Regions from separate parts of the Homo sapiens genome. Here region 2 is linked to region 1. The links are contacts of gene promoters, found by promoter capture Hi-C in human tissues and cell types (Jung and others, 2019). All regions are on one chromosome and are shown on one strand. Each heading gives the region's core, a stretch centred on a gene start or on the middle of the fragment in contact. The rest is flanking DNA. Distances are from core to core; before and after follow the strand shown. Region 1 holds the start of SOHLH1 (spermatogenesis and oogenesis specific basic helix-loop-helix 1). Region 2 has its middle 8.8 kb from the start of GLT6D1.

The links. Contacts are between HindIII fragments. The study calls those that stand out against the background at their distance.
Region 2: a fragment that was not itself captured here is called in contact with the fragment with the promoter of SOHLH1 in region 1 in 4 of the 25 tissues and cell types used here (H1 embryonic stem cells, IMR-90 fibroblasts, dorsolateral prefrontal cortex and 1 more).

What each region holds. Positions count from the first base shown.
Region 1 is chr9:135,696,513-135,701,708 of GRCh38, reverse strand. SOHLH1 (spermatogenesis and oogenesis specific basic helix-loop-helix 1) reads left to right here and starts at 2,228. Exons shown (of 8, transcript NM_001101677.2): 1 at 2,228-2,306; 2 at 2,583-2,714; 3 at 3,233-3,380; 4 at 4,082-4,203; 5 at 4,904-5,097. The coding sequence starts at 2,242. The HindIII fragment of the contact is 18,112 bases long and covers 1-5,196 here.
Region 2 is chr9:135,645,880-135,650,754 of GRCh38, reverse strand. No RefSeq gene overlaps it. Among named protein-coding and RNA genes, the nearest start is that of GLT6D1, 8.8 kb to the right of the region's middle. The HindIII fragment of the contact is 6,544 bases long and covers 1-4,875 here.

The DNA.
Region 1 (5,196 bases), core at 979-3,478:
GCAGGCTGCGGCATCTGTGGGTGGGCGCCACATCCTGGGCTTGGCCTGGGGGAGGGGGATGACTGCACCCCGCCCTGTGCTCTCACCCAGACGGGCACACACAGCACCTTTAGACGGGTGGGGAGGGGCCCCAACTTAAGATGCTGCAGGCCAAAGACTAGGAAGCAGAGGGTCCCCCTGCGGGCCCCCTTTCCCGTGCACGTGCTCACACTGTTACACATGCGTCACCCTGGCTCAGCCTCACACAGAGCTCTGGAGAACTGCGATTTCTGTCCCCAGAGCTTTGTTGGTTTGCAGGGTGGACCAGGCCCCTCACTAAGCCAGGACTGTGCCCACGAGGGCCAGGGGGAGGGCCAGGTCCATTTGGAGGGCGCATGCCATGTACTTTGTGGTCCCTGGCCTCCCCAGTGTCTCTCCAGAGGGTCCTTCCCTGTTTCTCCAGGAGGCAGCAGGCTGAACACAGATGCTTTTGAGGGGTGGGTGGGGAACACTCGGGGAAGTCTAGGATGCTAAGTCCCCAGCAGAGGTTCAGCCTGTGCCCCCGCCACACAGCTCGTGGGCATCTTGGGGGTTTTTCCTCAGGTCCCTAGATTGGCCGGTGCTGCTGCCGGGGTCCCACCACCCCTGGGCGGGTGCCGCCGGGGCAAGATGGTGGCCTTTCTGCCAACGCCCTCCTGCCTGGGGAACTCAGAAAAAACTGAGAGGCCGCACCATCTGCATCTGTGATTAATTAGCAGTAATTACACGTGTTGTCAACGGCAGGAGAGTCACAGGTTTGATGACATTCCGAGGGCTTTAGGGAAACAAAAACTTGGCCCCACTCTGCCACTGAGGAGCCCCAGATCGCCAGCCCGTCCATCCCTCCCTGGCCAGGGGCAGGGCCGGGAGAGGGGCCCAGGTCCCCGAGAGCTTTTGCCCTCCTCTCCAACCCCGTCCTCCTCCATGTCTGACCTGCAGCCAAGGCTGGGCGGAGCAGGGATGGAGACACCACCTTATATTACATAACCTCCCTCTGCTCCAAACACCCTTCACCCATCTTTGGCCCAAAGTCCAGGATGCCAGCCCGAGGCCCAGAGCCGCGCCTTCTCCACAGGAGACTGGGGCACCCCGGACAGACGTCCCCGTGTGGTGGCACCTGCCCGGGCTCCTTCTTGCCTCCCCTCTCGGGAGGAGAGCCCCTGCCACCCACCCCACCTCCTCCCGCTACGACCTCAGCACGAGCCAGGCCAGGGATGTCCTCCCAACAGTCCAGCCTCACCCCCCACCCTCGTCCCCTCTGCTTCCCTGAGGGCCCCCCGCAACCTCCGTGAAAGAGGAAGGGTCTCCACCTCCCCCTTCCCTCCGTCATCCCCCCAAAAGTATGTACTGGGGGACTCAAGCCCAGCGCAGGGCGGCTCCTGGAGTTCAGCGGGGAGGTGAGCAAACACCTGGCGCCGGAGCTTTCTGAATTTGGATGGGCAGGACCCCCGCGATCCCGCAGAAACCTGTTGAGAGTGTGAGGTGAGGGGTCGAGCTGGGGCCCCAGGGCATAAAGCGGGGATGGTGCTTGGGCAGGGCCAGGTGAAGGGACAGACGGTTCCGAGGGTGCCCGGCAGAGCTCAGCGGGAGGAAGAGCACGGACGATGGTGGCCTGGGGTGGGGACAAGATGCCCCTGGTTCTGGGCGACCCAGAAGTGTGGATGGTGACCCTACCCTGAGGCGCAGCGTCTGCAAGCGTACTAGATTTGGGGGAAAATGGAGGCGTGGGCGACTGGGGAGCAGGCGGGTACCCTTCCCCCTCCCTGTGTCCCTGGGTCCCCCAGGCCTGGGCTAAACAACTCAGCCCAGCCCGCCCACTCCCACCAGGGGCTGGGCTCCTAAGGGCAGAGCCCGCATCTCCAAAGTGCCCAAGGGCACCGAGACCACCGCATAAGTGGGAACCGAGGCGACCCCCGGGAAGGTAAGGGTAGAGGCAGGGCCACCTGGGCTGGGGCCCCTTCCCCTGGCGTCCTGCGGGGGCATAGAGTGGGTGGACCCCCCGAGTCCCTTTCCAGCACCTTCTTTGCAGGAACGCGGGTCACGTGGGCCCCGGGCTGGCTGCGTGGGGAGGGCTAGAGCGCATGCGCTATGGGGGCGGATTGCAAGTGGGGGTGGGGTGGGCTAGGTGGAAAGCACGTGGCAGGTGGGCAGAGCACACGTGAGGGGGCGGGGCTGCCTGCGGAAGGGGCCGTGCGCGTGGGGTCGCTCCGCAGCTGCGAGTTCATGGCGTCCCGGTGCTCCGAGCCCTACCCGGAGGTCTCCAGAATCCCTACCGTCAGGGGATGCAAGTGAGGAATTGGGCTGGCGGCCAAGGGGTTGGGGGCCCAAGGCCTGTACCCAGGGGTTCTTCCGCAAGTTGCTGGGCTCCACCCATCCTGGGCCTCCTGGGGCGGAGCCCTGGACCCTGGGAGAGGGGAAGGGGTGCAGAGAGGGCCGGGCCGTGTCCCTACGTGACCCAGTCTTGGCTTCCACCCGCACCCCAAAGACGCCCATTCTGGCATCTGGGACTCCTGGTGGCCTTTTCTGGGGTTCTCAGGGCCCGGTGCTCTTGGCTTTCTCGGCAGCGGCTCCCTGTCTGGTGCCCTCTCCTGCTGCGAGGACTCGGCCCGGGGCTCGGGCCCGCCCAAGGCCCCTACGGTGGCCGAGGGTCCCAGCTCCTGCCTTCGGCGGAACGTGATCAGCGAGAGGGAGCGCAGGTGAGTGGTGGTGCCTCCCAGGGGTGAGGGCGCTGTAAAGGGGTGGAGCGGGTGAGATTATGTTCGGGGCTGCCACCAGGTGTCAGGCAGCTGGGAGGGGCTCGTGGCCTGTGCCCAGGAGAAGGACAGACTGCACATCTCCAAGTAAACCAGAAAAGCCCTGTTGGGGAACATCCTGCAGCCCCTCTTTATCCTGAAGCCTTGGCCTCTTGAGGCTGTGCACCTGTGACCCTCTGTGCTTCTGACTGCCTCTGACCCTCGCTGTCTTTTCCACACCGCAAAGCAGCCATGGTTTGGGCCTGGGCTGGACAGCCTGTCGCCGAGGTCCAGGGGTCAGGCCCAGGCTGTGCTCTGATGTGGATCTCGGGGCTTCAGACCACGGGGGCAGCTCTGAGTCATCTTGTAGCCCCCTCTGCCTGACAAGCGCCCAGGGTCTATCTGGCAGGTTCTAGCAGTTGCTGTCCCTTCTCGGGGAGGGCAGGAGGGCCCAGAGGTATTTGTTTCTTGACCGGAACCAGGAAGCGGATGTCGTTGAGCTGTGAGCGTCTGCGGGCCCTGCTGCCCCAGTTCGATGGCCGGCGGGAGGACATGGCCTCGGTCCTGGAGATGTCTGTGCAGTTCCTGCGGCTTGCCAGCGCCCTGGGGCCCAGTCAGGAGCAGCACGCTGTGAGTTGTAAGGGTAGACGCCGTCAGTCCTCCGGCATCACGGTGATGGGACATCTCACCACCTTGCAGGCAGTGTGTCCCCTGTCATCCCCGTCTCCTTCAGCCCTCTGGGTCTCCACGGCTAGAGCAGGCCACGTTTTCGGCAGGGCACTTCCTGATTTGTTCAAGCCTTACCTGTTGTTATTCTGTTCCTGGAAAGGAGCAAGCCTTCCTTTCCAGCCCTCCTGTGCCCCTGAGTCCTGTTCATTGATGGGTTGCCGAGATGCTCCGTGCCAATTTGGGGGAGAGTTGGGGTCTCCTGATCCTCCCTGGCTGAGCACCCCCTAGATCATTTCTCTGCACGTCTCCAAGAGAGAGGCTCCTCTCCCCTCTCCAAGGCTCTGGGGGCTCTGGCTGACCCCGTGAGTGCTGGGGCTGAGGACCTGTGTGGGGAATGAAACTGTGTTGTCATCTGTGAGGTCAGGGGTCCCAGCATTTGCAGTGAGGCCCTTGGGTATGCACAGCCTGATTCAGGAATGGTGGGGCCTTTCGGGGGTGGAACCTCAGCCTCGTTGTCAACCTGTACTCTCGCCCCCAAGTTCCAAGCGGGGACCGAGCTCACAGTGACCCTCCAGGCCCTGGGGTAGCAGTCTTGTCACCGTGTCTTGGGTTTCTCAGCTGACTGTCTCTGTCTTTGTTTTACATGTTTACTTAAATTTCAGATTCTTGCTTCCTCCAAGGAAATGTGGCACTCGTTGCAGGAGGATGTTTTACAGTTGACGTTGTCGAGTCAGATTCAAGCAGGTGTGCCAGACCCTGGGACGGGAGCGTCCAGCGGGACTCGGTTAGTGTCTCCTGGGGCCCGCTCTCCAGGGCTGGGTGACCCTGGGAGCAGCAGACCCAAAGCCCCCTGGCATGTCCTCGGGAGGGTGTGGCCTGGAGGCCCGGCTTGGCCTCCGCAGGTGGTGACCTGCCCAGGGCCCTGCCAACTCAGGTGGCCAGGTGTGAGGTGACCAACATGGGCGAGCTCCAGCAAGGGGGGAGCGCGGTCAGCAGAATTGAGGGCCTGGGCTGGTGTGGAGGTGGGAGGTGCCCGGGAGGATCTCTTCTGCTCCTGTGTGTGGGGAATTTACAGGTGGTCAGTGAGGTGTCATACTCCTCCCCATGGGCAGCTTCAGGAATGCAGTTTTCTGAAGTCAAGATAATTTGGTTCTTTTCAGAATGGCAGCTCCCCAGGTTGAAGGACTGTCTGCATCTTGTGTTTAAATGTACCCATTTTACCCCAAAGCAGGCTGGGGCATGGGACTGGTGGCTAATTAGCTGTGGAAGAATCTAGAACCGGAGGAGTTGGGCAGAGGGAAACTGGGTAGACAGCTGTGGAGCTTGGCTGGCCCAGGGCCCCTGGGCAGAGGCTGGCTTGATGCTGGGTGGTGCCTGGGGTGTCCTGGGGATGGGTCCAGCCCTCTGCTCTTGGGGTGGGTGGGGGCAGCCTTCCAGGGGGCTGGGGAATAGACCCAGGATCCTTGTCATGTTGCTCCTTCTAGAACCCCAGATGTGAAGGCGTTTCTGGAAAGTCCTTGGTCCCTGGATCCAGCGTCGGCCAGCCCAGAGCCCGTGCCGCACATCCTTGCGTCCTCCAGGCAGTGGGACCCCGCGAGCTGCACGTCCCTGGGCACGGACAAGTGTGAGGCACTGTTGGGGCTGTGCCAGGTGCGGGGTGGGCTGCCCCCTTTCTCAGGTGAGTCCTGGGTGTGCATGTGGGGTGCCTTTGGCCTGGGGAGCGGCGCCAGGCTGTGCTTTAGCCCTAAGAACAATGGGGGCTGTTTGCAAACGGGGT
Region 2 (4,875 bases), core at 420-2,919, 50 kb after region 1:
TGCACACACACCACACGCACACACACATGCACACACTGACACATTTGCACACACACTCGCACATGCACACACCACACATGCACACACTCGCACACACAAAACTCACATGACACACACGTGCACACACACTCGCACACACCACACACTCGCACACGCACATGCATACATTTGCGCACACACACACCACACACTTGCACATGCACATGAACACATTCACATACATGCACACACACACTCGCACACACACCACACACATGCACACTCACACACACACTCGCACAATCACACATGTGCACGCGTGCGCGCACACACACACACAAATAAAGGTCCCATAGCTTTTGCCTTGGAATTCCAGCCAGGAGGTACCAATGCAAACTCACCAGTTTACAAAAGAACGGTTGGATGTGAATAGCGGTTTTTATCTTCGACACCAGCAGAAAGGTCCTTTAAACTAGAAAAAAAATATGTTTCATTGAGCAAAAACCACATCCTCATGTTTTTTAAATAAACTTCACCAAAAATGCATCTTACTTTCCTACTATTCTCTTAGAAACCCTAATTTCCAGCAAAAAACCTAGGATGACTTAATTTAACACAACATGACTTTAAGATTTTCAATTACTGGAGAGAATTGTGAGATTACATTTACCAAATTAATCTTACCAAAGATTACTAAAGTCATGTGAGCTGAAAGGCCTCTGGGCTAGCTTCTATTAGTCTACAAACACTTACTTTTCTTTAAGCCAACTAATTAGAGCTCTTTCATATGATTGGTAGTGAAATATTGTTTCCATGTGACACATAAACACACAGACTTAACAGACACAGACAGAGGCAAATCTTAGGGATTTAAAATGTTTCACTTGCCTGTTTTCAAAGTTTTTTTCTTCCCTACTTTATACCACTAATCTCTTGATTATCTATTCCATGTCTTAAACAATTGTTAACTAGGTAACTCTAAATTTACATCTCCAAATACATGACTTAGGTGAAGCAAGGTAAAAAATGTACATCTCAAAGGCACAGACTTGGATCTAAAAAAGGCAAGGTCTGTTATGTAAATGAAGCCATTGTCTCCCCCTTAGTTAAAGTTCCTAGTGGTTTAGACGCAGAGACAGAGATGTCCTTACAAAATGGAAATTTCCTTTAAAGACATAAATTTCCTTTACACAGAATTTTATTGAAGTGACTTAGTTTGATAGGTAGTATTTTCAGCGGAGCTTGATTAGGTCACTGGCTTTAGGGTGGAGCCCTCTAAGGAACAGAGCCAAGAAAGCATGCACAATTTTCTGATCTAAATGTGCAATGAGTGGCCCCCTGTAGTAATGACCATTTCCTGTAAACTGTCCTCAGCCTTCCCTAACGTTGTAGCTCTCATCTGCCATGACACACACCAAGGTCAAATATTCTCACAGTACAGAGTAATCTCTGGTATCTCTAAAAGTCAAAGAAGTCAAGTAATGCAATACAGGAAAGCAGAACTTTAGACCTAAGAAAAACCTGCCATGACTCTGAAAACTCCACACAGAAAGCAGAACACCCCCGCACAGGGTGAGTGGTGCCTTTATTCTGAGTTATTTAAGGATCCAAGTCATTATGATACAGGAGTGAGAAAGAAATTCAGGCAGATAAGGAGGGTAAGAGAGTCCTCAGCAAGGTTTCCTTTTAATAAAAAGCAGCCCCCAATCATTTCTTTCCTAACAAAAAGCAGCCTGAAAAATCAAGCTGCAAGTATAGATAAACAAGCTAAAAGCTTACATAGGTAAATGCTAGCAGCTGTGGTGATAGAAGAGGGATACCTGGAAGCCAAGTCTGTTCAACATGAAGGATCCCCCTTCCCTTTTCTTGGTCGCCACCTGTGTGGTAAAAGGCAGGCAATATGACACTGGCCAGGTAGAGACCCCATCTGGATAATAAAAGATTAGGGTGGGTCGGCCAGCTTCTTTGTGCACTATGCAAATGGCATGCCTAGTCTGACCAATCTCTCATGTCCTATGTAAATCAGATATTGCCTCCTCAAGCTCGTCTATAAAACCTCGTGCATTTCACCAAGGACCTGGAAGACCCACTCAGACGCCCCTCTCTCTCCGCAGGTGAGAGAGCTATCCTCTTTTCTCTTTCCTTTGCCTATTAAGCCTCTGATCTTAAACTCACTTCTTGTGTGTCTGCATCCTCAACTTCCCTGGTGTGAGATGACAAACCTCAGGTATTTACCCCAGACAACAACGCCGCTTCAATTAGAACCCTTCTGTAGACATTTTTTTCACTTGGTACCAAAGATGGCAAAAGGGCTTCCCCTTTTTGGGAGAAATAGGGTGGAAGAAAAATAAAAGAATAATTTTTTAAGAAAGGAAGCACACAGAGAAATCAAGTGAATGTTTTTTTTTTCTCTTTTGCAGCTTCAAGGAATTTTAGCCAATCCAGAGGGCTTGTTACCCATAGTGTGGAATTCTCATTCAGATTTGGCCAAGTCAGGTAGAGATGGTCAAATCCAATGGGAGAAAGACCAAAACGACAATGAAACCAAACTATATTGTTAGAAAAAAATGCTTGGTGCTGCAAAGAAAACCAGGCAGAAAATTTCTCAGCAAGGCACATTTACTTCTGCAGAAGGGTGCTGCCTGCATCAGTCACAATCGCAAGAGCACACCAAGCTGGGAGGGCAGGGGTTTTTACCCCTAATGCAGTTCCTGTTTCTGTGTCCTTTCCCCATTGGCTGATGCAGTTCCTGTTTCTGTGTCCTTTCCCCATTGGCTGGAGTTGGACTGCACAGTCTAAACTGACCCGATTGGCTAGTGTTTGAAATTGAATAAGGCCAATTATGCGGGAAGGGAGAGGCTGTTCCTTACCAACTAGGTGGGAAGAGTTGTTTACAGAGTAAGAGGTTTGCAGGTTACAGATTAAGCAGAAAAACAAGTGCTCATTACAGATTAAGCAGGAAGGGCTGTGTACAGAGCAAGAAAGACCAAAGAAGCTTTGAAGAGGAACTTATAATTTCTGGCAATATGATTACTGAGCTCTCTAATGGAAGCAGAAATGAAGACCAGGCGGTGGTCAATCTTAACTTTTAGTCATGAGGGAGAATTTTCAAGACAAAACTCCAATTCAGCTACTTACCTAGAAATGGGGCCCAGGCTGAAGACTGCTCTCTACTGTCTCAGAAACAGGAAAAGTCCCAAACTCGCCTTCCCTGTTGGAATCGAGCTGAAACTCCAGAAAAGGAGTTGCTCAGCAAAAGAAACCTCAGATCTCAACCGAATGTTGGGAGATCAGGGATTCTCTGGGGTAGAAGGGGATACTCCTGGACTTCAGCAAATCGGACTTCAGCAAATTGTCCTATTAATTTGAGCAATAAAGATAGCCCAAACTGATACTGAGCATCGATAGGAGTGTCTGCAAAAAGAATCAAACTTGGTAAAATATTTGAAGGGATTTATTCTGAGCCAAATACTAGGGACCATGGCCCATGACACAGCCCTCAGGAGGGCCTGAGAACATGTGCCCAAGGCGGTTGGTTTTATACATTTTATACAAGCTTGGTTTTATGCATTTTAAGGAGGCATGAGACATCAATCAAATACATTTAAGAAATACATTGTTTTGGACCAGAAAGGTGGACAAAGCAGGTGCTTTCAGGTTATAGGTAAATTTAAACATCTTCTGGTTGACAATTGGTTGAGTTTGTCTAAAGACCTGGGATTATAGAAAGGAAATATTCAGGTTAAGATAAAAGATTGTGGAGACCAAGGTTGTTTTAGAGTCTTATAGTGGCTGCCCTTAGAGACAATAGATGGCAAATGTTTCCTATTCAGATCTTTAAAAGGTGCTAGACTTTTAGTTAATCTCTTTAGGATTGGGAGGGCCTGGAAGAAAAAGATCTAGCTATATTAATTCAGATTATTTAGAGATGCAAATTTTCCCCCACAAAGGACAACTTTACAGGGCCATTTCAAGATATGGCAAAGAAACATGTTTTGGGGGTCAAACATTTTGATTTTCGTCCTTGTCTTACAATGTTATGCCAGAGACAGGTTGGAAAGTAAGTCACAATATATAGGGTGAAATAAAACCCAGCTAATGACAATTTATGATTTGTATGGCATGACTCCCCAGGTCCCTTAGATAGGAATTTGGGCATGATAAAAAATCAGTTTAAGGAGAATAGCTTGAACCTGGGAGGCAGAGGTTGCAGTGAGCTGAGATCGTGCCACCGCACTCCAACCTGGGTGACAGAACAAGACTCGGTCTCAAAAAAAAAAAAAAAAATCAGAGTTTAGTCCTCAGGAGATTTGTCAAAGGACCACCTCCACTCAGAGTTCCTTCTGTTGGTCACAATTTGTAAGTCAAAAAGTATCTGAGACAGGTCTTAATCAATTGAGAAGTTTATTTTGCCAATGTTAAGGAAAAGAAAACCAGAATCACAGAAACAGTCTGTGGTCTGTGTCTTTCTCCAAAGATGACTTTGAGGGCCTCAATATTTAAAAGGGAGAAGTGGGCTGGTGGGGAAAAGAAGGAGGGTGTGGTCATCCACAGGTGGCAAGAGAAAAGGAACATGTAGGGAAACAGTCAATCATATATTTGTCTTGTGCTCAGTAATCCACGCTTTTCATAAGGTCAGGTGAACATGGAGCAGCTACCTGTGAAGATACTCAACCTTTTATCTGTAGCTTTCTGCTTAGGAACAAAAGGAGAGGCAGCTTCTTCTATGACTCAGCTTCCAGCTTAATTTTTTTTCTTTTGGATGGGTGAATTGAGGTCCCAAGTTTTTTATTTTCCTTTCACAAATCAATTTTTTAAAAAGAAAGTACCATTTAAAATAGCACCAAAAATGAAATACTAGATGTACATTTTTACTGAAACATGTTCAGAATTTGC